Linked DNA regions of Homo sapiens: all the other regions are linked to region 2. The links are contacts of gene promoters, found by promoter capture Hi-C in blood cells and fetal thymus (Javierre and others, 2016). All regions are on one chromosome and are shown on one strand. Each heading gives the region's core, a stretch centred on a gene start or on the middle of the fragment in contact. The rest is flanking DNA. Distances are from core to core; before and after follow the strand shown. Region 1 overlaps DNAH7 (dynein axonemal heavy chain 7). Region 2 holds the start of TMEFF2 (transmembrane protein with EGF like and two follistatin like domains 2). Region 3 overlaps DNAH7 (dynein axonemal heavy chain 7). Region 4 overlaps LOC105376755 (a long non-coding RNA gene).

Region 1 (7,479 bases), core at 187-2,686, 3.9 Mb before region 2:
TTAGCACAGTAGGCAACTGGTATGTCCTGCCATGACCTCTGAGCTTATAGAATGCTTCCTGGAATTGATCACCTGAGGAGGGTCAAGGAATAGCATTTATCTGTCATCTTTCATCCTGTATTGGTGAAAGATTGTTCCTGGGGATGTTGACTCCCATCCTCTTCTGGCTGCTCATGTGTGTGAGCAGAGTGGGCTCTTCCTAGAGTCCCATACTGTAGCATTAGAGGATTCCCCCTGCAGAAAAGAAAAAACATTTCTTTTTTCTTTTTTTTTTTTTTTTCAGACAGAGTGCAGTGGCATGATCTTGGCTCACTGCAACCTCCGCCTCCCGGGCTCAAGCAATTCTCCTGTCTCAGCCTCCTGAGTAGCTGGGATTACAGGTGTATGCCACCACGCCTGCCTAATTTTTGTATTTTTAGTAGAGATGTGGTTTCACCATGTTGGCCAGGCTGGTCTCGAACCCCTGACCTCAGGTAATCCGCCCGCCTCGGCCTCCCAAAGTGCTGGGATTACAGGCGTGAACCACTGCGCCCGGCCACAAAAGATATTTTCTTGATGTGAGAAGCTAGCACAGAACTGTTTACTGCAGCCATGTCTGGAATCCAAGGTGAGGCCAGCAGGATGTGAGGCATCATTTGCCAGATGATTTTTCTGACATATGTGTGGCTGCTTGTCTTGGTTAGCTAGAGAAGCACTATTTGTAAAATATTCTATAAGATACATATTCCGCACTGCAATGTAAGAAGAAAACATTAAGGTCCTCACCACCCTTCTTCACCTAGAGTGATGGTGAGACTTGGAGAAATAGCTCAGCAACAGCATGGATGATGCAGAGATCTTAAAAAGTCAGGGTGGTGGCAGTGATGGGGTTGTTGTATAGGAGGCTTGGGTTACATAGGGTGTTTTGGATATTTGTAGTGACTCCAGGACAATAGATGTCATTCGAATTACCTCTGTCCCTGATGTGAAAATTCCAGGGCACTTGGACTAGACATCCCAGAGCCATTCCTCTCTGTCATCTATAACTGCATTCTTCTCAGGCCTTTGCCACACCCTCATTCTCCCCAAAGGGAAGGCTTCAACTCTGAGAACACCTATTGCACCTGTTAGCTTGAAAATGTTGTGCTCATATTTCCCTTCCCATTGTGTAGCCCAGTGGGAATTGTAGAAACCAGAACCATTTGGGTTACAGCATTGTATATGTGTGAAACGTTCCCCTAATCTGGTGCTTGTATTTCAGAAAGTACTGTCTGAAGCTCATTGCACTCTTTCCTTTTCTTTTCCTTTCTTTTCTTTTCTTATCTTTAGTTATCCATTTTTTAGGGCATGGTTAACCATTTTGTAATTTTTTTTTGAGACAAGGAGGTCTTGCTGTGTTGTCCAGGCTGGAGTGCAGTGGTGTGATCATGGCTCACTATAGCCTCTACCTCCTGGGCTTATGTGAGCCTCACCAGTAGCTGGGACCACAGGCATGGGTCACCACGCCTAGCTAATTTTTGTATTTTTGGTAGAGACAGGGTTTCACCATGTTGCCCAGGCTGGTCTTGAACTCCTGGGCTCTAGTGATCCTCCTGCCTTGGCTTTCCAAAAGTGCTGGGATTACAGCTGTGAGCCATTGTGCCCAGCCTCACCATTTTATGATTTTCTAAGATAAAGCTAAAATGACTTTAAAGTCAGTTTTCCCATTGTATTAGTTCCTTCTCATGCTGCTATGAAGAAATACCCGAAACTGGGTAATTTGTGAAGAGAAGAGCTTTAGTTGACTCACAGTTCCACATGGCTGGGGAGGCCTCAGGAAACTTACAAACATCGTGGAAAGGGAAGCAACTTTCTTCTTCACATGGTGGCAGGAGACAAGAGGGAGAAGAATGAGAGCCAAGTGAAGGGGAAGCCCCTTATAAAACCATCAGATTTTGTGAGAACTCACTATCACAAGACTAGCATGGGGGAAACTGCTCCCATGATTCAATTACCTCCCACCCAGGTCCCTCCCATGACACATAGGGATTATGGGAACTATAATTCAAGATGAGATTTGGGTTGGGACACAGCCAAACCATGTCACTCATCTCTATAAGACTGATTTAGTAGGTGGAGGTGGGGTGGGGTGAGGGGTTAGGAGAACAGTATAGGTAGGTGTACACATAATTCATATATCAGAATATATTTTATTTATTTAAAGACAGGTGTCTCTCTGTTGCCCAGGCTGGAGTGCAGTAGTGCAGTCTTGGCTCATGGCAACCTCCACCTCCTGTGCTCAAGCAATCCTCCCTCCTCAGCCTCCTGAGTAACCGGGACCACAGGCACCACCATACCCAGGTTATTTTTGTGTATCTGTTTTGGTAGAGATGGAGTTTCACCATGTTGCCCAGGCTGGTCTTGAACTCCTGAGCTCAAGCACTCCGCTCCCCTTTGCCTCCCAAAGTGCTAGGATTACAGGCATGAGCCATCACACCCAGCCAAAAATAATTTAAACAATAAAGAATGCTATGCATCTTCAAAGGAGATTACTTACAGTTGGAGTTAAGAAATGAAATGTAAACTTTTTCGATTTTGGTCTTAAAGGGCTAGATTTTAACAGGGAGATATTTTGGAACCTATTGGTGGCTCTGACAGGGTAATTAATACTATCTGACAAAACAAATGGAAGTCGAAATCTCAGAGACTTAACCCAACAAAGATTAGGCCTTGCTCACATGAAGTCTGACGAGGGTCAGGTAGCGCTGCATCTTATAGCTATGCCAGTGGGAACACATGGGCTTCATGGGTGTGAGATAGTGATGGAGGAAGCACACCAGCTCTTAACTCCCTGTCCCTCTAGCTCTTAACTGCCTGTCCCTCTAGCACTTAACTGTGTTTCCTGTTGTGCTCACATTTCACTAGCCACACAAATCATATGGCTACAAAGTAACTAAGAGAAGCTGGAAAATAGTTTGGAGTATGTTGAGGAAGGCTTTGGACACCAAGAAGAGTTGTGCCTACTTCAACAGGGGGCTTTAAAATGTTTCTGAACAGGGGAGCAGTATGATCAGAGCAGTGCCTTTGAGAGGTAGAGGTGACCTTTTGTTACCAGCATTTTCTGTAAATCCAGGCCCATGTCTCCTGTTGCCTATATTATTCTTAAAAACCTGCTAAACTAGCCTCACTGCTGACTCTAGTCCCCTGCTTCTCATGTATCCTGTTTGTATCATCAGAACCATTTATGAAATAGCTTTTGTATGTCTCTACATCATAAACAGGATAGCATTATAATTTATCATCTAAACTAAGATGCCATTGAGAGCGAAAGTTCTACTAGTTATGCTTGGGCAAACTGAGACTAAAGGTGTAAACTGAGACTGTCTTCCGCAAACTGAGACTAAAGTTCACCCTAAAAGGAGACTGCAGTGGCTCTCTATTGCCAGCCTGGCCAGTCAAGCCCTGAAACCCATGTCCTCCTTAATATAACAGCACCCACTTGTCTAGCTCTAGTTTGTTCTTCCCCTACCTTTTATTCAGGTTCCTATTCAAACATAACCTCTGCAGAGAGGGTCTTACTACTCCATCTACCTAGCACTTTTCCACTCCTTCCCTCTCTGTTCCTTCACACTGTTTTATTATTCTTCATTGTACATACTAGTTTCTGAGATTATGTTATAGATCTGTTCTGAAATAACTGTACCTCCTCTAGAATGTGTACTCCATAAGCAGAGGGACTTAGTCCTTTCCACGACTATGGACTAGGTATCTTAGTCTGTAGTCCTATGACTTAGTCTATGAGCCCAGCACATGGTAGGAGCTGGTGAACCATTGTTGAGTTAGGGAATGGATTACCTTCCCCATCCACTCCAACATAGCCTCAAAGCCTGCCATTGACATTTAGACTCCAATTCTTGATGCGCCCTCTGACTTCAGTAAGCTCTTTGCTGTCCTTCTCTGTGGAGATCCAGGTATGCTTTAAGGCTTAGCTCCACCCTTTTTCTTTTTGAAACGTTCTTAGAATACTCTGCTCCACATCCTGTCCTAGATGGAAGCACATGGTCTTTAATATTAACTGGACTGTGTGCTTTGTGAAGGCAGAGACTACATGATTTCTTATCTACGTAATAGGCATAAAAGTGGTACAACAGTATTTACCCCACAGCGTATAGAATATTAAAGGTGTTAATTCATGTAAGCTTCTTAGAACAATGTGGAACACATATGGTAATCAACATAAAATATGCTCTAATCAATATATAAACATTGATAATTTACATTCTTTGTGTTTTGTACTAAGTCTTCAACATCTAGTACATATTTTAAACTTAAACACATCTCACTTCAGAGGAGCCGCATTTCAAGTGTTTGGTAGTTACAGGGGGCTAGTGCATACTGTTTTGGACAGCACAGCCCTGAAGAATAGAGGAATAGCAGATATAAGGAGCAGCCACTCCCTCTAGGTCTGAGAGAGAGTGCTCAAGGAACAAACTTGGAAGAGCCGTCCCTTCCCCAAAGCCTTAGATTCAGACCTCATGGGAGATGTGGCTGTGGCCCACTGGATGACAAAGACATTTGCTGAAGAGCTGCAGGTCTGGGCTGGGAGGTGAAAACCACCTACTGGGATCCTGAAAGTTTGAAAGGAAGTCTCTGTCTGTGGTATAAGTGAGACTTGTGGAAAGTTGCTGTCAACTTGCAATATAAGCATACAAGTAAAAAGGTTTTATTTGAGAATAATATACAGGAAGTGAGATTGCAATCCAGGACTTACGTACAGACTAGGGTGGCCTCCAGTATGTCTGGAGAACAAGTTAAATGATTAGGGTTTAATTGGGGAAAGAGGAGGTTATACAAGTTGTTCTGAAAGAAAGTTTATTGGCACTGGCAGTGTCTTACAAGAGCTGGCGAGTTTTGATTGGTGAGTGTCAGTAGTTCCTAGGTAGAACTTGTTATTTTTTATTTATTTTTTTTTCTTGAGACAGAGTGTTGCTCTGTCGCCCAGGCTGGAGTGCAGTGGTGCGATCTCTGCTCACTGCAACCTCCGCCTCCTGGGTTCACGCCATTCTCCTGCCTCAGTCTCCCAAGTAGCTGGGACTACAGGCACCCACCACCACGCCCGGCTAATTTTTTGTATTTTTAGTAGAGACGGGGTTTCACCATGTTAGCCAGGATGGTCTCGATCTCCTGACCTTGTGATCCGCCCACCTCAGCCTCCCAGAGTGCTGGGATTACAGCCACCGCGCCTGGCCGGTTTTGCATACTTTTTAAAGCTTTCTGATAAGTATTGCTGGATATAATTTTCCTTTATTTTCTTGCTCTAAAGAAAACAATTCTGAGACAAACCTGAGAATTTAAAAAGCAGTAAAGTTTATCTTTGAATATGTTGGATAATATGTACTTTTTAAATAGTCTTTCTGTAAAATTTGGTTCAGTGAATCAATTTTAGCACTAACAGAGTAAACACTTTTTTCCCCTTCATATTTTTCACACAGGAGAAATTAGCCAGCAAAGAAAAGTTCAAGGCACCAGCAAGAGCTTTACCACAGCTGTCTATGGTAACTTATCCAAATATATTCTCATTGAATTTTTGTGCTTCAAAAAATGTTTATTAGTTTTCTAACTTGAAAATAAGTAAGCAAATTCCTGCTCCATTTGATTCTTTTCTGATGGAGAAATTCTATGAGGTGTGCATATTAGGACAAATAACTATCTTAGTAAAGTAACCATAAGCTATAATTACCTGTATATGTAGAATATTTCAGTATTCTGAATGAACGACTTGCCAAGATTGGTTAGCAAAAGGAGTATTAGCGTTGGAGTAAATAAAAAAGGGCTTGGGGTAAAGCTTTGCCTCTAATGGCTCTGTGCCCTTTGGGGAGTCACTTACCTCTTGAGCCTCAGTTTCTGAGTTTGAAAATGAGCTGAGTTGATTTGATGATCTTCAAGGAGATGGGTCTTCCAGCAGAAAAATGCTGTACTACAAAATATTTCTTAGATTTTGGAATCTTTTTTCATTATTTTGACTATAAAGTGTCATTGTCTTGTGGAAGAGGCAGTTAATAGACATTTTCAGTTGATAAAGCCCTGTACAAGTTAGATTTTAATGTAATAAAATTTATTGTCTAGTAATTATGTGGAGTTTAATGCCACCAAGTTACAGTCTTGTGACTCCTGAAAGTTAAATTTAAGGGGAGGGTCAATGCAAATATTATTATTTTTTAAAAAAATTGATAAAATATACATAACATAAAATTTACCATTTTAACCATTTTTAAGTATTCAGTGACATTCAGTACATTCACATTGTTGTATAATTATTACTACCACTCATCTCCAGAACTCTTTTCATCTGACTAAACAGCAACCCTGTCCGTTAAACAATGACTCCCCATTTTCCCCTCCCCCACCTCCTGGCAAACCACCATTCTACTTCTTGTCTCTATGTATTTGACTACTCTAGGTATTTCATATTGGTGGAATCATACAATATTTGTCCTTTTATGCCTGGCTTATTTCACTTAACATAATGTCTTCAGGGTTCATCCAAAGCATTATTTGCTTTGAAAGATATTTTAAAAGCTGAGAACAAACTATAGAATTGAATTTGTGTTGCTTTGTACAGAGAATATTACTGATAATTTGAAATGAAGGACAGTTTCGCTTAGGAAACTTGAACTAACATTGTTAGATTAATTATATTGAACATTTAAAAATACAAATCTTAATTGAAAATATGCTTTTATTGATAATGGCAAATTATTGTAAAATGCCTGCAGAATCGAGCCATAGCATGTTTTCTCTAGTTCTGCAAAATCCCTCTTAATTTTCTAGTGTAAAAGATAAAAAACTGAAATGGAATAGACATTTTTTAGTTTGTTGCAGATTGTTAGTTTACAGATGTAGAAATATAAACTTAATTTAAATTTTCTTATCGAATATCTATGGCTGAGACGCATAATAATTCTTGCTTGTGGGCGAAGCATATAATCATCTAAAATGCTTTTATTGACTGATGTAAACCTGGTTTTGTATTCATATTTGGCTGTGTCTTGCAATTTTTCCTCAGCATTCTTTGAGTCTTATGGGTTTTAAGGGAAATCATATTTTCAACAGATATTTAGAAAATGAGCTATGGATTATTTTTTTAAAACTACTTTTATTTGAATACAGTATTAAGGTTTGTACCTGGATAGAAGTTCTCCAGCAGTAATTACGACCTGGAGTGATTTTCTTTACAGACTTCAGGCTTCTAGAGGTGACCCCTGTAGTTGAAATCAAGAATGATCTGGCACTGGTGGCTCCCAGCCTCTGTGACCTGATTCTCACCCTTTCTGTACAACTCCTCGTAGCGCTTCTATGAGTTTTAAAACTTTTATGGAGCAAGACGAGAGTTGAGAAATGGGAAGGGCGGGTGGAAAATGGAAGAGCACTGTCTTACATGTTTTCTTATCCTATTTTCCTGTGTAAGAGGTAACTAAAATAAGGACTTGTGTACAGGTAGTTTATTAGGGAAGTGGAAGT
Region 2 (6,863 bases), core at 2,656-5,155:
ACATGTACAACAGCTCATCTTTACACTGAGTAAAAGCTTTTAACCTGTCTCAGAAACCTCTCTGTGAAAACTGAGCAAAAATCGAGGTATCCTTTCATTTGTCATATAGGTATAGGTGGTACCTTACTTCTCCAACAAGGATGAATATTGAAATGTGGATCCCAAGGCCCAACTCCAGATTTTCTGAATCCCTGATAGTGGGACTTGGAATTTGTCTATTGTTTCAAAGTTTCTCAAGGAATTCATATGATCAACCAGGTTCAGAAATCACTGGATCTTATTGCCGAAGTTTGAGAATTAAAGTTTGGGCCTTACTGCGGCTCCACAGAAAGGGCAAATGAAGTATCATGGACAGAACTGATACGTTCCCAGTTAGTTTCCCCTCTCAGAAGCTAACAGGCAGCAATACAGCAGAAATTAGTGACTTATGTCTTGTGCTCTGAAGTCAGGCAGAATTTCACAGAGTCCCAGCAGTGTCACTGACGAGATTTGTTTCTTGGGGCAAGTTGCCTGATGCTTTCAAAGCCATATTCCTTTTATATAAAATGAGATAATATTCTTTGTCTCATAGGGGTGTTTTAAAGATTAAATAAAAATAACATGTTCTATCCTACATGGCACAATGCCTGACACCTAAGAAGCAAAGGATACATCTTACCTTTATTGAAGCAATCAGAAAGTATGAAATCATGAAGGAGATAAGAGTTCTGATTGGCAGTGTATCTTATTTTCCCAGGTTCATTTATTTATCTTAAACTATTCTTGTTGGAGAATAACTCCCAAGCCCCCTACTTAAGCTGTGAGTAATCTCACACTTTATAATGATGTTCTTTCCATGAGAAAAAAAAATGTTCTTAAGTTTTCTGGAGAAAATATATCTGCACTATTTCTACTGAAAAATCTAACAACTGGACTCTGCTCCTCTGCATCAATTCTAGAGTGTATATGCCACAAATAAAGTGTTCTAGCTCAAGAAGATTGAAAGTAAATATGGTATAGTATTTTAAAATAAGAATTTTGCAAATACATGGTATGATTGTGTCATATTACTAGCAATCATATGATACGCAATGCAAAGTACAGTTCATAGACTTAAATTTAATTCTAATAAGTAAACTGATTTTGCCTTGCTGGGGAAAAGTTAAAGCACTAATCCAATTGCTAATGCAGTCTTGTCTACTTCTTTGGTACCTAGTGACAAGTCTAAATAATGTATATATTTTTATTTACATATTCAGTAATACAATTCTCTGCTCAATGAGTGATGTTCTTCTGCCACTTGGTGGTGCTTGCCAGTTTCAGAATTTGTTTCTTGGTGGCACTATAACACTAAGTACAGAGTAAGTGCAACAAAATTGCAGCATTCCCATTGAAAAGGCTTTGCTTCAAACTGTTTAATAATTTAAAGGACCTCTGTGGAAGCAACCGCATTTGTTAACCAGTTACAACCAGTAATTAACTCCTTTGGAGTTTTAACTTACTTTTGGCAAAACGTCTTAGGAAGAGCATATATTATTAGAAAGTATGCCAAAAATTTACTTAGCAGAAAATTCAAAAACAGTTTTCCTCTGCTAAGAGGTTCTCTAAAATTCTACTTACATAGCCAAACTCTGAAATCCTAGCAGGTCCTGTTTCATTATCATAATTACTGCATAAACACTTTTAAGGACTTTGCCTTTAGTTTCAAGCATGACTTATTTTCATAAGCCTGATTAGTTACCACACCAGCCTTGCTATGGAAAATGACATGTTCTCATTCTCTGCTGTAGAGTTGTTAAATCTTGATCTATATTTATGTTGCCTTCTCTGCTGAAAGCCTGTAGCGAAAGAAATTTCTAATTCCTTGTTTTGCAATATTAGTTGGCAGCTCTATCTAATGGGTATTCTGTTTCCTTAAAGAATTTAGCTGCTCTGTCTAGAAGCCGATTTTCTGATGCCTCCAACGTCTGGTCTAATTGATCTGTTTTAATGGAGTCTTCGTCGGTGAGGAGCGAGATGCCACCGACTAGAATGCTGGGATCTGCTGCTTAATTGCCAGGAGTGAGAGACACTGAGATTCAGAAATCTTTGGAGGTGGGAGGGGAGAGGGACAGTCTCGGACGGAGGCGGAGATGTAAGATAAAGGGATGGATTTCACACAGGAAAAAAAAAAAGATTTCGTTGAGGCACTGAGGTGCTGCACGATCACATCTCTCAAAGGAGAAGTTAAAAAGCAAGGAAGTGGGAGGAGGTTGGAGGTTAAAGTACTTAAAAGGATTACTCGGGTACAATTTGTTTTTCTGCTGGTGTCTGCAAAGGATAGATAGTCCCGTTTTCAAAGTATATGAATGCCTCTTTTAAGTGATTGGGAATGGACACTAATTGCCTGTTAAATGTTATCAAATGCTCTCCTAAATTCAGGGGACACAGAAAGAGGGGCACAAAAGGAGAATTTAAATAGAAAAAGGGAGGATCCGGAGGCTTTTGAAAGCGGGGGGAGAAGAAGGAGGAGGGATAACAGAGAGGAATAGAGAAGGAGAGCGGAGAGAAGATAAACAAAAACAAAAACAGGAATCACTGAATAATCACACACCAAAAAGAAAGCTCTTCCCTATGGGGCATCCAAAACACTGAGACTGCAATAGTGACCCCGGTCATGGAAGAAAGATGTTCCTCTCCACCCTTGTCCCCGAAAGCTCTTGGTCCCGTTACTGGCGACTAAAATTCCATTAGGCTAAAGAGTGTGTCTAACTGCCTGAAGAATGCAGCAGACGGAAGGCGGGTCCCGCTATGCCGTTTGCCCTTCCCGCTGGAGAGAATGAAAGAAACGCGCAGAGCCAGAGACTCCTGCCGAGTTAGACCTTCTCTCGTCGCCCCAGGTCACCGGCCATCCGGCAAAGACCCGAGTAAGGAACGCAGGGTCACTGCCTGGGCCAACAAATGGAGCCCGCTCTCCCCTTCCCGGACGCCGCTGCCCGGCCGATGCTCCCGGCAACCCACCCGCGGCGTATGCAGAGGAGCCTTTCTCTTTCTCTCAGACCACTTGTCCCGACCAATCTGACCTTCCAAACACATCTGACCGCACCTCCCAGGTGGACACACTAATAGGCTACGGGCTGGAGAGGAGCGGGTGATGAGGAGAGGGATTCAAACCTGCGAACGCTTGGGCTGGGTCGGAGCTGCGGGGGGCCTGGGAGGAGAGAGGGGAGAAGAGAGAAGGAAGGAGAGCGCCTGCCGGGATGGCTGAGCTGCCTCGGCGAGCAGCCTTGGGGTTGCACGCTCTTGTGGGAGATGCTGCTGTTGCTTCCAGGTCGGCAAGAGCGGTTCTAACACCATCGCCTCTCACCCTCTTTCCTGTAAATCCCTAGAGAAACGTCCCTGGCCTCTCCGCCGCGACATTCCCAGCCTGCATCCCCCTACAGCCTAGGCGGCGCGCTCCCGCACGCTGGAGCGCCGGTCGCCAGCAGGACGCCCTCTCCCGCGCCGACTCGCCCCTCTCTGCCCTGCTGCTGCTGCTCCTCTGACACCTCCGCCCCCACCATCTCCAGCTCGGAGAGACGCCACCCAGCCGCGGCCCGCACTCGCGGCCCGGGGTCACGCGCGGAAGAGGGGCGCTAGTCCGGACCCCGCCTTCGGTAGGGGGCGTCCTGGAGCGGAGAGTGAGGCGAATGGTATATGAGTGTGCGGGTAGCCCACCCTGAAGCCCGAGCTTCTCATTTGAGCCATCCCCGCCTAGCCCCACTCGGGCCAGCGCCTGGCGAGCGAGCCCATCTGTGGCTTCCGCGGCCGCCTCCTCCTTGCATCCTTGCACCTCCTCGTCGACCCCTCCCTCCCGGGACCTGCATCCTGCTCCACCAATCAGAGCCCGACTGCCTCTTCCCACGTGACCCCGGGCGGGCTGAGGACCTGCTGCTTCCCAAACGCCAGAGGGATGCGGGCGGCAGAGCTCGAGAGGCGGCTGCCGGGCTGCGGGGCGCCTTGACTCTCCCTCCACCCTGCCTCCTCGGGCTCCACTCGTCTGCCCCTGGACTCCCGTCTCCTCCTGTCCTCCGGCTTCCCAGAGCTCCCTCCTTATGGCAGCAGCTTCCCGCGTCTCCGGCGCAGCTTCTCAGCGGACGACCCTCTCGCTCCGGGGCTGAGCCCAGTCCCTGGATGTTGCTGAAACTCTCGAGATCATGCGCGGGTTTGGCTGCTGCTTCCCCGCCGGGTGCCACTGCCACCGCCGCCGCCTCTGCTGCCGCCGTCCGCGGGATGCTCAGTAGCCCGCTGCCCGGCCCCCGCGATCCTGTGTTCCTCGGAAGCCGTTTGCTGCTGCAGAGTTGCACGAACTAGTCATGGTGCTGTGGGAGTCCCCGCGGCAGTGCAGCAGCTGGACACTTTGCGAGGGCTTTTGCTGGCTGCTGCTGCTGCCCGTCATGCTACTCATCGTAGCCCGCCCGGTGAAGCTCGCTGCTTTCCCTACCTCCTTAAGTGACTGCCAAACGCCCACCGGCTGGAATTGCTCTGGTAAGTCCAGAACCCCCGTCCCCGACCCTTTAACTCCGCAGAAGAACACGCGTATCCAGCACAGACCAGCCTACCCTAGCGCGCCTCCTCAGCCCCTCACCTCCTACTGCCCTAGACCCCTAATACCACCCACCTCTATCCAGAGAAACAAGGGGAACTGTTGCAGGCCCGGGGGTGAGGGGTGGTTCTGGGATGGGCAGAAAGTGCAGGTGTAGCAGGAAACCTTTGCATGCTTGCGCTTACATTGGAGCTGCGAGGATTTTGAGAAATATTAAACGGGATGGTTTTCTGGGTTCACTGTTTTGAAAGAGCACCAATCCTAGGGGAAACACTGAAACAGAAGCTTTGTCATCATTAAAGAAAAAAGTCTTACTAGGATGAGGAAGAAATAACTTTATGAGAAAGAATGAGCGAGAAAGCAATAAATCAAATGGTGACTGCAGGGGAATCGCTGATTCCTGGCAAAGGTGCCATGAGGTCGCACTGGTCTCCCGTTGAAGACCAGGTCACACAGATTCTAGAGGAGCTGGGTTTCAATAGAATTTCTCTCTCTCTCTCTCTCTCTCTCTCTCTCTCTCTCTCTCTCTCTCTATCTATCTATCTCTCTCTCTCTCTCATTCCCTTCTCTCCTAGGCGGCAAAAGACATTGGTTTTGCAGTCCAGATATGCCCCTCTCTTTGCTTCCCTAAGCTTCAAGGTAGTACAGGGGAGTTGAGAAAAAGAACACTTTGCGGGTCTCCCAGGCCGGAGTGGGCATGACTGAGGCTGGTCAGGCTCCATGTAGGCGAGCCGAGGGCGGAACCGACTTCAGTGGGCGCTGACTCCTCCATTTCTGGACAGGCTTCTGTGGAGTGGGTCAGGCACTCTTCTTGCTCGCTCGGGTTCCTTCAGATTCTGACGGCGAACGCTTGGCAGGCTTCGCTCTGCTGAAGCTTCCTAATTAAATAGGGCCAGAGGATGGGAGTTGCTGCACTCCTAGCTGGCATAGCATTTCGGTTTGACAGCCTGTAGTATACTGGGCAGAATTGTGGTGTAATTTCCTTGGCATTTTAAACTCCGTTAACATGCCTGGGTATTGTCCCCTAGGTGTGGTCTGTTCTAGTTTTAGCAAGTGTGTATGTAATTTTTCATCTTCTGTGAATATAATTTTGCTGTAGTTAAATCTGGCTCTGAATAAAGTGTCTTTCAAAGATGTATATAAGCTGAAGTGTATGTAACTTTAGAGAGGAGGGAATGACCAACTGTAACTCAGGGTGAAAGCCTGTATAGTTCCTAGTTATTACTGATGTAAATGCCAAAAGGAAAATTATTATGCATCATTCTAATTTATCCTTTACAAAGACAAGTTGAGATATGCAACCCTATTAGATTTGGGTCAATAGATTGTTCTCTTTTTTGGCAGTTTCTAAATTTGGCATTTTAATAAAACTCAACATGTTTCTATAACTTCTTGATTCATGCGTACATGTGTGTTGTTTTTGAAAGAATAAGTTTCACTTTGCTATTGCCTAATCACTTTTTAGATGCTTTATTATGGTAATAATTATGAGCCTGCAAAAACAATTTTTGGAAATGTTGATGGCTTTGTAGTCCAACACAGACTGGTTTGCTTCATTCCTAGCCCTTGCATTGTTTTAGGAAATAACTAACTTAAATGTGAAGTTGACATTTGCAATCAAGAAATTACATATTTACCAGATATTTTAAAGGGGACTGCATAAACTAAAGAGAATAAACTGGTTTTGCAGATAGGTTGTCAAGAACTTGGCACCCCGCTTCCACCCCTGTTAACTTAGAGGTGATCAATCTTCATTTGAGCCAAACAGACCATCACAGAAAACACTGTGCCTGTTTATCTTTATTATTGAGGCTTTGTTTCCTCTTTGTCTGGATACATTTCAAATAAGGGGTTGTTTCAGTCGTTGAAGCAAAAGAACAATTAAAGATGGGGAAATGGTAAAAGGGTATTCAGAGATCATCACTAGCTCTTTTCCAAAATGTGGAGTTTTGTGGTCATAAATATTGTCCACCTAATGAGCAAAAAATAAAAATAAAAAAAAAACAGGAAGCAAATGTTAAGCTTTCATTCACCACTGTCAGTATTAACGCAAGCTTTAAAAAATAGCACTATCAGAAAAGGATACTAAAGGAGAATTGACTAGAAAAGAATTGTGGAAAATGGAAACGAATATTGATCACTTAACTAGATTTTGAGGTTATCAGTAGACAGTGACCTTGCAGTACAGCTATAGTTGTTGGATTTAAAATTTAGGACAAGTATTTTAAAGCTTCAAAGTAGTGCTTTTTTTTGTTAAAAATCTGTAAGATGTTTTAATGACTGGAGTGTTCTCTTTGAATTTGAGGTTATGATGACAGAG
Region 3 (7,091 bases), core at 654-3,153, 3.7 Mb before region 2:
GCCCAAGTGCAGTTCATCCTGCATTTGCTGAAGCACTCAACATGGAATGGTGACTCTGTACCAGGATTTGATGGCGATTCTTAGAGGAATTTAAAGTCAGTGTTATTTTACTATGATAAATACCTTTCTTGAAGGATGGAAGATTATAAAATGTTCATTTTAACTCCATAAAACATGGAGTGATGTAAATGCTTCATTTTCCCCTTTCCCCAGAGTCAATCCTTCCCCACCTGCACTCTTTCTAACAGACAATTTTGGGGTGAGGAGAAGGAAAGGGGGAGTAAAAGGGTCGCTTCAAGTGTCTGTGTGTTTTAGACACCATATTAGTCACTTCAAATACATTATCTAATTTAGTCCTCATACCGATTTTGAGAGAGGGCTTTTATCCCCATTTTCAAGATAATAAAAAAGGGACTCAGATTAAGCAGATGATCTAAGGTCGCACAGGTAGTGGGGAATAGAGTGTGGACAGACACCAAGTCTGTTCAACTTGGGCCCCTTTCTTTATCTGATACAGTCTTTATTATGTTTGTCTTCTCACTGGGAGAGAGTAAAGGTAGTTGAGTTGCCAGTCATAAGATGATTACTTTTATTTTAAAATCTTAAATCCATATACAAAGATACATAGATTATTGCCTGTGTTCATTTAAAAGTAGCATATTTGGTTCAGAGTTATTAAGCTAATCTGGTTAAATAGGTTTGACCCTGGAAATTCAATAATAAAAAAAGTTTACCTGAATGCTCTTTCCATGGTTTGTTGTTGTTTGTTTGTTATTTTGGCAATTATAATATTTAGCAAATGGAATATACTGGTTTAAATAACTGAGTTTTTAGCTTTCAAATCTTAGATTAAGAATGGAAACATTGCAATAATTTTTTTGGTTGAGAATAACAAATACTGTTCATGTGTGAAAGGAGTTTTTTACATTTATTAGCCACAATTCAGCTTTTTTCCCCAAACAAATACAGGCATACTTTTCCAGAAGGTGGCACTCTAAGAACATTATTTTGATATTTGGATTTAGGCGAACATGATGGCCTGAGTCTGTTATGCTGTGTGTGTTTGTGTGTGTGTGTGTGTGTGTGTGTGTGTGTGTGTGTGAATGTCTATTTGAAACATAAAACAAGAAGCATAATAAAATTCCTTTTAAAAATTATGCACCTTTAAAGATAAATTGATCTAATTATATTATATGATTTATATATTCATGTTTTATTGAGGAAACAAGTAATGATAATTATTTTCTTTGATTAAATTGCTGTTTCCAAATTGCATTGTTGTAATCCAAAAAAAGCAAAAATTGTATCTTTCCTTTTCAGACACATTCAAAGTATGTTCACAAAAACATACTTTAGAGACTCCTGCAATTGAATAAAATTCCTATAGGAAAAAATTTACTGGTTACATTTTTGGTTATCTCTCAGTCATGGCTAAATACCAAAAATATCTAATTAGTTAATCTTGAAATTTAGTATTTAGTTTTTAACAATATTCTCTTGATTTAATTTCATATAAATTTCCTAAAATGCCCTGTTACATTAATAAATGTCTGGTGTATTTTCATGAGGTGTGCTACTTGGCGATTGAAATCTCTGTTGTGTTAGCACCTTTTTTGTTTTTTCAACACCTTCAAGCTTATTAAGTAAAGAACTTTCCTTACATTGTCAATGATGTCAGTGGTGAACACTGACTTTGGAATTATAAGACCAAGAATAGACCCAGATGACATCAACCATGTGTTAAAGAAAAAAAAGTAAAAAGAATTCTATTTCAACTATATCTAGGCTGTATTTTTATATGTATTTCTAAAGATTTTCATAAACTTGGTGGTTACTGTATAGATATTTTGAGAAATCAATAAACTCTATTTACTTTTTTTAAAAAATATGAGTTCTTTAAGATCAGCTTTTGGTTATAATTCTTATTTTGAATACACAGGATAAAAGAAAGCTCTTTTAAAAATATTTGATTGTGTTTGAATCACTTTAAAGCAAACAGCTCACAGTGACACTTTCAAGTGAGAATGTTCACCATGCCTTAAAGGTGGAACAGTCTGTCTCTAGAGAGTTCAGGAAGAGCACACCTTGAACTTCAGTCCTTCAGCAAGAAGTGTTATAAAGTAGTTTCAAGGGTCATTGTTTACAATGTAAGATCTTCTTAGAAAGCTTTCTTCCTCATTTCCTCAACCCTTACTTTTTTCTCTGTAGTTATAAAACAGGGATTCTGTTATGTTATTATTATTCATAACAATAAAATTCAAAATAATAATTATAATGATGACTTATTGTTTAGAATTCTTTTCCTCAAAGAATAAAATACAAAAGAAAATATCTCATACCAGTTTGTTTCCACTGTCCTTCTTGTGAGTTCAGGCAGTGTTCTCTCTCTCTCATTTTCTGTTTCTTACACTTCTCAACTTAGAATGAGAATCGTTATGAACAGGGCTGAGGATTAAATCAATGTGACTTTTACAGAATCAGAGAGGCCAAGTAGACCTAGAATATGCAAGACTACTTTTAAAAAACAAATACTCCCCTTAAAATTTACATAACCTTTGTTTGATTACAAACATATAATCTCAAATATAATATGAATATAAATAGAGTTAGTATCTAATATTTTTGAATTGAGTGTTTTTTATTTTTATTTTTAGGATAAACATGTTCTGACAGTTGTAACCATTGACAGAATGCTGGAAAGGCTGAAAAAATCTAATGAACTTTTGGAGCTCATTCTTAAAGGACTTAATGAATATTTGGAAAAGAAACGCCTCTTTTTCCCCAGATTCTTTTTTTTGTCCAATGATGAACTTCTTGAGATACTATCTGAGACTAAAGATCCCACTAGGTAAGTAATTTACATGTAGAATACATGACTAAATTTATCTGCTTAAACTTAATTTTTAGAACAAAGTAGAACATAAATATATATAATCATGTTTATATAATATTTTTTCTACAAGAATGTTCCAAGTATTATATAATCAACTTTGGATAATTATTAAAAATGTAACTAGTATCACTGAATGAACCGTGGAATCGTTTTCTTTTTTTGTTTGTTTTTTTGTTTTTGAGATGGAGTTTCACTCTTGTTTCCCAGGCTGGAGTGCAATGGCGCGACCTTGGCTCACTGCAACCTCCGCCTCCCAGGTTCAAGTGATTCTTCTGCCTCAGCTTCCCGAGTAGCTGGGATTACAGGCGTGCGCCACCATGCCCAGCTAATTTTGGTATTTTTAGTAGGGACAGGGTTTCACCATGTTGGCCAGGCTGGTCTTGAACTCCTGATCTCAAGTGATCCACCTGCCTCGGCCTCCCAAAGTGCTGGGATTACAGGCGTGAGCCACCGTGCCTGGCCAGATTTCTTAACTTATCACATCTTACAGATTTTTCAGAACACAGCTCTTTCACAGCACATTCAGAATAAAAGCCACTGCTCTCATGATGGTTTGCAATGCCCCACACAGATTATCCTTCCCCTGTTATCCTTCCTATTCATCTCCTACTAGTCTTCTTGCTCACTCTGCATGCAGCCCACCAACCTTTTTGCAATTCCCCGGTAAAAGGGGCAGCCTCCTTTCTCAGTGTACTGTTCTCTTGCCTGGGATGCTCCTTACCCAAATGTTCATCATACTTCTTCCTTTACCTCCTATAAGTCTTAGTGGAAATCTGGTTAAACATCTGTCATTCAGGGAGGCCCTCCCTGACCACCATATTTAAAGAGGCAGCTCCCTCCATGCTCAACTTGCCCTCTTTCCTGGACTTATTTTCCTTGCCTCATTTTCCTTCTGCATAGTTGTTATCATCTGGCATACTCTGTAATTTACTTATTTGTTAATGGCATGTCTTCCTCTAGCGGAATATAAGCTCCACCATGGTAGAGATTTTTTGACTGTTTTTTTCCCACTGCTGATTCCCCAATCTTTAGAAGAGCATCTGATATAAACAGTGAATAGATACTTGTTAAACAAATGTGTTAATTTTGTTAACTTGTGCCTTCAAAGTAGGGGATATGTAATCTAAACAAAAGGTAAATTTAGGCTCAGATTTCTATCTGAGTTTTTATACTTTGCTTCTTTTTGTCCATTTGAAAGATGAATGCAACGGGTTATTGGTAGTGTGCCAAAAATGAGTTGTGTCAGTCCCATCTGTATTACATTGAATAGACTAATAGTTGGATACTGTCAACGCAGTTGATTTAGTAAACTGTAAAGTACCTAAGTTACTAAACATAGTCCACAATTTTCAAGCAGTCTCTGAAGAACCCAGTTGAAATGGCTACTTTTGTGCATTTGAAGATTCTTCAGATTCATGTATTTATCTGTTAGTCAAGATTGGTTTTCTCCTTATGTTACCTTTAGCATCTTTTAATTCATTGTATTGAAGACAAAGCCTCGTGGTTGTCTCTGTAGCTCTTACTATAATTGTAATTTTACAGATGTTTTGTGATTATTCAGTTAATACTGACATCTCAATGGACTATATAATGCATGTAGGCAGAGCTTGTGTTTTTTGTTTGTTTGTTTTGGGGGTTTCCGGTTTTTGCACAGCATTTCATTCCCAGCAGCACCTAGCATTTATGAACTTTAAACGAAGAACTCTGGAGTGTAAAGAATTGTTTTAACTTGGTTAATTATCTTAAAAATGTTTTTCCTGACAGGGTGCAACCTCACTTGAAGAAATGTTTTGAAGGAATCGCAAAGGTAGAATTTACGGAAACTTTAGACATTACTCACATGAAGAGCAGCGAAGGAGAGGTTGTAGAACTCATAGAGATTATTTCAACAGCCAAAGCCAGAGGTCAAGTGGAGAAGTGGTTGGTTGAATTAGAGAGAGTTATGATTAACTCCATCCACAAGGTAGCTGATTATACTGATGATTTTTAGAAAAGGATGCTAGAATATGAATGTTATTAGAAATATTCTGTTGATAAATGTACTGTTATTTAAACAGAAATGGAGGCATGGAATTACCAATTCAAATGTGATAGATAACTTGAAGGCAAAGAGATGTTCTATGATAGTAATTTTGTAGTGACTCACTGGAAAAGTGGGACAAAATACCATCCATACTACAAAACACTTGGGTTTGAATAATGCATCTGCTCATTTCTTGTGGCCACATGCTAGTGCTTTCATCATTAATTAGATACACTTTGTTCTATGCAGTCTCTCTTTAGTCTTGCCTTGGAAGCACCTCTCTACATGATCACATCAATCTCCTCGACATGTATGAATCTTTTTTTCGGTGTATATATGAAATGCATACAAAATGTTAGAAAATAATGTATGCTTCCTACAATTAATAACAACTTCATATTTTCCACATTTCATGAAACATACTGTGAGCTCAATCATTTGTGATTACTTTTGTTGGTAGAGAATTTCAAGGCACACCAATAAATAAAGATTGAGCACTCAGTTTTTTTTTTTACTGTAGTGTGAGCTTAGCATTCAAGTTTTTAGTCAAGAATAAAAATCATGATGGAGCAAAGGAACAGAAGGGAGTATAACTAATTAATTAATTTTAAATTTTTATTTTTTATTTGTTACTATACTTTAAGTTTTAGGGTACATGTGCACAACGTGCAGGTTTGTTACATTTGTATACATGTGCCATGTTGGTGTGCTGCACCCATTAACTTGTCATTTAACATTAGGTATATCTCCTAATGCTATCCCTCCCCCCACCCCCCACCCCACAACAGGCCCCGGTGTGTGATGTTCCCCTTCCTGTGTCCATGTGTTCTCATTGTTCAATTCCCACCTATGAGTGAGAACATGCGGTGTTTGGTTTTTTGTCTTTGTGTTAGTTTGCTGAGAATGATGGTTTCCAGCTTCATCCATGTCCCTACAAAGGACATGAACTCATCCTTTTCTATGGCTGCATAGTATTCCATAGTGTATATGTGCCACATTTTCTTAATCCAGTCTATCACTGATGGACATTTGGGTTGGCTCCAAGTCTTTGCTATTGTGAATAGTGCTGCAATAAACATACATGTGCATATGTCTTTATAGCAGCATGATTTATAATCCTTTAGGTATAGACCCAGTAATGGGATGGCTGGGTCAAATGGTATTTCTAGTTCTAGATCCCTGAGGAATCGCCACACTGACTTTCACAATGGTTGAACTAGTTTACAGTCCCGCCAACAGTGTAAGTGTTCCTATTTCTCCACATCCTCTCCAGCACCTGTTGTTTCCTGACTTTTTAATGATCGCCATTCTAACTGGTGTGAGATGGTATCTCATTGTGGTTTTGATTTGCATTTCTCTGATGGCCAGTGATGATGAGCATTTTTTCATGTGTCTTTTGAAGAAGTTGAATCTCTGAATAGACCAATAACAGCCTCTGAAATTGAGGCAATAATTAATAGCTTACCAACCAAAAAAAGTCCAGGACCAGATGGATTCACAGCTGAATTCTACCAGAGGTACAAGGAGGAGCTGGTACCATTCCTTCTGAAACTATTCCAATCAATAGAAAAAGAGGGAATCTTCCCTAACTCATTTTATGAGGCCAGCATCATCCTGCTACCAAAGCCTGGCAGAGACACAGCAAAAAAAGAGAATTTTAGACCAATATCCCTGATGAACATCGATGCAAAAATCCTCAATAAAATACTGGCAAACCGAATCCAGCAGCACATCAAAAAGCTTATCCACCACAATCAAGTGGGCTTCATCCCTGGGATGCAAGGCTGGTTCGACACACACAAATAAATAAATGTAATCCAGCATATAAACAGAACCAACGACAAAAACCACATGATTATCTCAATAGATGCAGAAAAGGCCTTTGACAAAATTCAACAACACTTCATTCTAAAAACTCTCAATAAATTAGGTATTGATGGGATGTATATCATCCCATCAATAAGAGCTCTCTATGACAAACCCACAGCCAGTATCATACTGAATGGGCAAAAACTAGAAGCATTCCCTTTGAAAACTGGCACAAGACAGGGATGCCGTCTCTCACCACTCCTATTCAACATAGTGTTGGAAGTTCTGGCCAGGGCAATCAGGCATAAGGACATAAAGGGTATTCAAGTAGGAAAAGAGGAAGTCAAACTGTCTCTGCTGCAGATG
Region 4 (6,969 bases), core at 2,965-5,464, 3.1 Mb before region 2:
TAATGAGATTGCTGGGTCAAATGGTATTTCTGGTTCTAGATCCTTGAGTAATTGCCACACTGTCTTCCACAATGGCTGAACTATTTACACTCCCACCAACAGTGTAAAAGCGTTCCTATTTCTCCACATCCTCTCCAGCATCTGTTGTTTTTAAAGATTGCCATTCTAACTGGCATGAGATGGTATCTCATTGTGGTTTTGATTTGCATTTCTGTAATGACCAGTGATGAGCTTTTTTTCATGTGTTTGTTGGCTGCTTAAATGTCTTCTTTTGAGAAGTGTCTGTTCATATCCTTTGCCCACTTTTTGATGGGGTTGTTTGTTTTTTTCTTGTAAATTTGTTTAAGTTCCTTGTAGATTCTGGATATTAGCCCTTTGTCAGATGGATAGATTGCAAAATTTTTCTCCCATTCTGTAGGTTGCCTATTCACTCTGATGATTGTTTCTTTTGCTGTGCAGAAGCTCTTTAGTTTAATTGGACCCCGTTTGTCAATTTTGGCTTCCGTTGCCATTGCTTTTGGTGTTTTAGTCATGAAGTCTTTTCCCATGCCTATGTTCTGAATGGTATTGCCTACGTTTTCTTCTAGGGTTTTTATGGTTTTAGGTCTTATGTTTAAGTCTTTAATCCATCTTGAGTTAATTTTTGTATAAAGCACAAGGAAGGGGCCCAGTTTCAGTTTTCTGCCTATGGCTAGCCAGTTTTCCCAACACCATTTATTAAATAGGGAATCCTTTCCCCATTGGTTGTTTTTGTCAGATTTGTTAAGATTCTTTCATTTTGAAATTGCAAAAACCCAATTAAACAAGGTTTACCAAGACGGTAATTTTTTTCCTATATAATTAGAAAGTCAAAGACATCATGGGTCAAGATTTTTTTTTTTTCTGATTTCTTGGCTTTAGTTTGTTCTATGCATTAACTTTATTCTTTGGCAGGCCTTTTCTGTATGTTTGGAAAGGAGGCTGCTGACAGTCTTAACTAAATATATGTATTTATAACCTAAACTCCATGGGAGTAGAGCCTTTATCAAATATGTGGAATTCAGGTAAAGAAATGCTAGAGAGAAATTTATAGCCATGAATAAATGTAACAAAAAGAATAAAGTATGAACATCCATGAGCTAAGATGACATGTCAAAAAATTAGAAAAAGGACATCAAGAATAACCAAAGAAAGTGGAAAAAAGAAAATAATAAAATAAATTAATAAAATAGGAACCAAATGTAAGTTGATTTTTTTAGAAAGATTAATAAAATTGTTGTAATAATCTTTTGACTGCAAACGAAAAAGTAGATACATAGTCAGGTTTCTTTATTGTCAAAAAATTAGATTTTTAAATTAAGTATTAATATCTCATATCCACGAAAATTAACAATAAAAATTATAAAAAAGTATTTATATCGCTTTTAGTGTCTTCATAAGAATAACAACTCCTTTAGGTGTTTTGGAGATACTCAGACTTAACTGCAAAGGTGGTAATTCTGAACTCAAATTAATATCCCAACAAAATAAAAATCTTTTTTTTTTCTATAACACACACACGCTGCATGGATTAATTATGGATGGCTTTCTCAGAACAAAAATAGGTTACTAGTACCACAAGAAGTGGCAAATGGTGGATCACAAAATCAATCAAAGTTTACTGCATAGTCTTCTTTATAGAGATTTTCTATTTTGCACTGACTTAAGGACTTACCGTTTTTTAAAAACTTGAAGATAAAAGGAAAAACATAAAGTAAGAGATTTTTAAAAATTGCCATTGTACCAGGGGCTTCCTAGAAGTCTACTCCTCAGAACAGTGACGTGGAAAGGCCTTTCGGAAGAATCACCTTCTCATGTCCCTTTGTTACTTGACAATAAAAGGGATCCAAGATGTTCCTTACACCAAATTCCAATTAATAGAGAATGATGCCGCAGTAAAAGCATGACGTAGAGTATGAAGACTTAGAAGATTTTCACTGGATCAGTGTAACTCTGGAGGGTGTTAAAAATTGATCTCTTTCATGGTCCCAACAATGTATTTAACATAATTCCACTTTCATATGCTTAAGGTAAAGGGAGAGTAGAACAAATTAGAGTCTCAAAGCTTCAGTTCTCTTTCTCTATGATAACTATTGAAGAAAGGCATAGGAGGAATTTTAAAGGGACGCCTCTTTGCCAGCATTGAATTCTGTGAAATAAAGCAATTCAGTGACCTGGTTAATTCTGTTGCCCTAAAAAACTCTCGTATTAGTTTCCCCCATTTTCTAATATGCAAAATATTTCTGAAATAAGAAGCTGTAGGTCCTGTTCTTTACTTAGAGAAGAGATATTTGCCAAAGATAAAGTACTTGACTTTGCTTTTCTTTGGTGATTTTTTTTCATTCAATAACTTTTGGCATAGGGTACCCCATCACATCAAAAACTCTATAGTTTAAAACTCATTAAGAACAGGTTTAAGAATTTTGAATTTATTTATTACTAGTTATTTCAAGGTGAATACAAAAGAGGTAAACTTATTCTATTTTCTACTCAAACTGTCTGAAAAACACTATTTTAAACTTTTCTGCAGTTTAAAATAAGGGAGATGGCTTAGTTTTTTGGATATATGAGGGATTATCACACATATGGACATATTTCTAACATATTTCCAGGAGACAAGCTATAGAACATAAAAAGTCTGGTGGATAACCAAGAAATGAAGCAGAAGATGTGAAGATGAAACTGTGTACAGATTTCTATTTTTACCCTGCATGAAAACTGGACACATGTGGGAGCCAATTTTATAGAGATTAATAGAGTAGGGCAGCTAACTTTGAGCTGCCCAGGATGGGATTATTAGTGATTTAGTGAAAGAAAACATGTGCATAAACAACAGATAAATGCACTTGAAAACAAAGTGAAAGGTTCAAAATGGTTTCTGGAAAAGAATTTTTTCAGGAAACATCTGGAAAAATATGAAAAAGTTTACCCCCCAATTTACATAAGCTTCAAGAGAGAAATAAAGGCAATGTTGAGAGTAGTTGAGCTGGGGAGGAGAGAAGAAATGCCTAACAGTTCTGTGAACCCAAGATTTAGATAATTACAGTATGTTAAGAGTTTTTTAAGAGGTTTCCTTTTTTAAGAGTTTTTTAAGAGGTTTCCTTTGAGGGAGCAAGTACATAAAGTACCAATGAACATTCTTTCACAATTTGTTTTGAGTCTTTTAGAAAAAAAGATAGAAGGCAGAGTTTTGATATAGCTTTTTTTTAAACAATGAAAAATGGGAGAACTTCATAGCTTTTCATTACTTTACATGGTTCTTGGCTTAATTGATCTCTCATTTTATTTCTAGGATTTAAAGAAAGCAAACATGACCAGCACAAAAATAGATCGCCATTTTTCCATTTAGAAGTTACTCACAGAAAGGAAGAGAAAAGGAGCCTTACTTACTTATTTTGATCTCTAGTGAAGAAATTAGATGATATTTTTCCATAAGAGGTCATATCCTACTATGTTATGCATGTATTATAATGATTTCCTCCCAGGATGATCCCAGAATTAACAACAATTATGCTGCTTTTCCTCAACACGTAAATTTATTTCGTATACTGCTTAAGGTAGTAAGAACTGTGTGGAAGGTTATTTTAGATACCTTATCCAGGGCTGGTAGTTAAGTGATTTTTACCTCATTCCTTCAAATTTCAGAAAGTGGATGAAGAGTAATCAAGTCCTTTAAATTCACTGAAGAGTGCTTTCTCTCAAGTAGGTAGGAATTGGTAAATTATTTATATAAGTCAAATGAAGCCTTGCAGTCCTGTACTAAAACACTATTTAGTGGGAATAGAATGTAGGAAGCTCTAGAAAATCAATTTGCCACAGTACTCTTATTTGAAAACCAGCCCCATGCTAAGACTGTACAGTTATGTGAGACTTAACCCCCAGTCCCTTCATTCAATACAGTACCTCTCTTTTGGAAGCCAGGAGAGGGCTTCCTACAGAAAAAGAGCTCAATTTTGGTCTTAAGAATTTGTATTTGAATAAATGAATTAAAATTATCTACAACCAATCCCTGCTCAGTCTAGTATTTCACATAATAGCTTTAGTTTTCTTTTTTTTCATTTCTGATGTAGTATATTTTAGCACACATTACATAAAAAATAAAACCATATATCTTCTGCTTTCTCTGCCCCCCTTTTTGGTAGTTATGGCTTCCCATGGTTAAATGGCAATTAGGAATTAGGGAAGGTGATAGAATTAATGTAGGCAGGTTTTATTCTCCACCTGGCTTTAATATAGATCAAATAAGATGAATGTCCAGCCATTAGAAAGCAATTAAAAACCATTGCCTCACACACGAATTTTTGTCCTTGTTTTTCCATATATATCACCAAGAACCCTTCACTTTCCCCCTCTTTCTTGTCTATATCTTAACTAAATCTCTTCCCAAATGCTGAGTATAAAGAGTTTCTTATTTACTCCCATATGTTGACTTGAAAATCCCTTTAGGTAGATAGTTCTGGTGCTTTCTGAGGAAGAGTTGAGAGAAGATATTGAGGAAAAGATCACAAAATCACATGTTCTGGTCTTCACTAGATGATTGACAGCCATCAGTCATTTGTGTGGCTACCATGTCTACCCAAACCAATCAGAGTTCCACTGGTGGTTATTTTGTGTTTTTGGATCTTATCATTCCATCTTTCCCAAACCTTTAAATAGCTTTTAATATTAAAACAAACAATAAACAGATTTTTAAGTGTAAAAACTTAGGGTATCATTATAGTCTCTTACGTCATATTCTAATACATGTAATGCATCTATACCTTCAATATATTCTTGTTTTTGCTTTCAAGAGTGAGTTGAGAGTCATCAGAATTGATTGGCATCTATTCTATTAATGGTTAAGGCCAAACTTAGAGAAATTTGGGGAATTAGGCATACTTGATCTTTGGTGCCCCTCCATCCAGTTCTGATTTTAACTAGTCCTTTTTCTTATCTTAGTACTCTTTCTCGGTACTCAGTACAGTCTTCTCAGAGGCCAAGTCTTAGCTCCCATACTTCCACAAATACTGCTGTTTTTCTTCAACAGTATTTCTGGAAGTTCTTTAAATCATTCCAGACTTTATCTTCCTTTTGTCATCAAAGTTTTCCTCACCTCTATACTAATATTTTGCAGCTCTATCAAGTTGCTGGCAAATCTAATCAACAAATGGAAACCAAAATGATAATGGCTGAAATAAAAAATAGTGTATATTTTGACCTAAAGGAGTTAGCATTTTGTATATTTCAGGCTTGTGTCAGAGCCAATGAGAAATATATTTTTCAATGAGATTTCTGTTAGAGATAATCAGGTCATATCCATTTTCAAATGAACAACAGATAGGGCAAAAATGCCTTGACAACAGCCCAAGATGTACCTGATGATCTTTACTTCATTGGCCTTCATATATTTCTTGATAGCCCTCTCTCTCACTACTGATTTTATTCTCTCATTGCCTTGGAAGCTTCAAAACTGTCTTTGTTCATTTTGTGTTCCCATAAGAGAATGCCCGAGAGTGGGCAATTTAGAAAGAAAAGGAGTTCATTTGGCTCATGATTCTGGAGCCTGGGAAGTCCAAAGCTGGGCAGCCTGTCTGGTGAGGGTCTCATGTGAATTAAACTCATGGCAGAAAGTGGAAGGAGAAGCAAGTGCATGCAAAAAGAGGCTGGGCTTTTTTAAAATAGAAACCTACTCTTGTGGATTAGTCTCTGGGGACTAATCCAGTCTCCGGAGAGCAAAAACTCACTCACTACTGCAAGAATGGCATCAAGCCACCCAGAAGGGCAGCACTCATGACCCAAAAGCTTCCTATTAGAGCCTACTTCCCACATATTCCATCCCCCAACATTGCCATACTGGAAATTAAGTTTCCAAAATGAGTTTTGGGGACACTGAAAGCAAACTAAAAGCTCCTGCATATTATAATCAGGACATCATGAGTGGCATTCTGTGGGAAATATTTTCCCTCCATTTTGAGTGTGCTTATGCTACATCAGTGACATTCCTAATCTTCTTCAGAGCTGAAATGTAATATTGCATGGACAGAATTTACTGTTGTAATTAGACCAGATCAGGATGACATGGATTAATGGATAGCCTTAATAAAATAGTTTTTAATTCTTCACTGATAATTTTAAATGTAAGTTTTCTACCTAAGGCCATGAATAGATCAGAAACTTAAATCTGTTTAATATTTTCATGTAGCGTTTCTCATTATGTCTAAGTTAAAAAGGGCATTAAAAATATGCTACTTGAGGGAGAGACTAAAAAACAACTGTACAGAAAGAACTGTGCTTGATTTTGTATCTTGAATTTTAAACTAAGGTAGCTTCTTATGAGAACAATCCAGAGAGTTATTATGATTTTAGCATTGAGAAGACTATTAATGTGAAAATTGCTTTATTATCATTTTGACCTTATTACAACATTTAGGTTCACGGTAGACCACCTATTAAGTGATTTTTCACCTTTGAGAACAGAGGCATAGGTAAAATTGTTTTTATTAACATAAAGTTCATATTATATTAATTTGCTGTATAAGCATTCATAATACACAAAGGCTGACTAGTTCTTGATGTCAAAGGAATTGTAGTTACAATGCTCCACGGAAAAGGAAACCCTGAACATTGTTACTCACATCTTCTGTGATTTTTTTTTTTTTTTTTTTTTTTGCTATAATGCAGTGAATGAATTTCAGCCATCATTTACTGAAATCTGTTGCCTGGGGGCTTAGAACATTCTTTATATTTAGCAAGCAGGAAAACTAAAATCGTGGCATATGAATAATGAAACAGACATATGTACTCCCTCTGGTGAAGTGGAAATAAATACTGTACACCTTTACAAATATTAGTTTATTTGTCCATTTTACTTCTATCCATAGGATTATTTTGCATTCTTTTTCAATGAAAATGACTAGAAAGTGTTCACAGTTGATAAATACATTTTCAGAAATACTAAGGCTTATATTGCAT

What was found. The method cuts DNA at HindIII sites, captures the fragments that hold promoters and counts their contacts. A CHiCAGO score of 5 or more calls a contact.
Region 1: a fragment that was not itself captured here is called in contact with the fragment with the promoter of TMEFF2 in region 2 in 1 of 17 cell types (naive CD4 T cells); the score reaches 7.9 in naive CD4 T cells.
Region 3: a fragment that was not itself captured here is called in contact with the fragment with the promoter of TMEFF2 in region 2 in 4 of 17 cell types (total CD4 T cells, total CD8 T cells, non-activated CD4 T cells and 1 more); the score reaches 10.1 in total CD4 T cells.
Region 4: a fragment that was not itself captured here is called in contact with the fragment with the promoter of TMEFF2 in region 2 in 6 of 17 cell types (endothelial precursors, naive CD8 T cells, total CD8 T cells and 3 more); the score reaches 10.3 in endothelial precursors.

Annotation. Positions count from the first base shown.
Region 1 is chr2:196,049,221-196,056,699 of GRCh38, reverse strand. It overlaps DNAH7 (dynein axonemal heavy chain 7), which reads left to right. Exons shown (of 65, transcript NM_018897.3): 3 at 5,451-5,513. Among named protein-coding and RNA genes, the nearest start is that of DNAH7, 16 kb to the left of the region's middle. The HindIII fragment of the contact is 5,446 bases long and covers 1-4,159 here.
Region 2 is chr2:192,191,975-192,198,837 of GRCh38, reverse strand. It overlaps TMEFF2 (transmembrane protein with EGF like and two follistatin like domains 2), which reads left to right and starts at 3,905. Exons shown (of 10, transcript NM_016192.4): 1 at 3,905-4,485; 2 at 6,849-6,863. The coding sequence starts at 4,314. RefSeq lists an enhancer at 3,384-3,959. The HindIII fragment of the contact is 4,792 bases long and covers 39-4,830 here.
Region 3 is chr2:195,932,356-195,939,446 of GRCh38, reverse strand. DNAH7 (dynein axonemal heavy chain 7) reads left to right here. Exons shown (of 65, transcript NM_018897.3): 20 at 2,655-2,848; 21 at 4,658-4,856. Among named protein-coding and RNA genes, the nearest start is that of DNAH7, 130 kb to the left of the region's middle. The HindIII fragment of the contact is 531 bases long and covers 1,638-2,168 here.
Region 4 is chr2:195,322,827-195,329,795 of GRCh38, reverse strand. All of the region lies in intron 1 of LOC105376755 (a long non-coding RNA gene), which reads left to right. Among named protein-coding and RNA genes, the nearest start is that of LINC01825, 210 kb to the left of the region's middle. The HindIII fragment of the contact is 2,495 bases long and covers 2,967-5,461 here.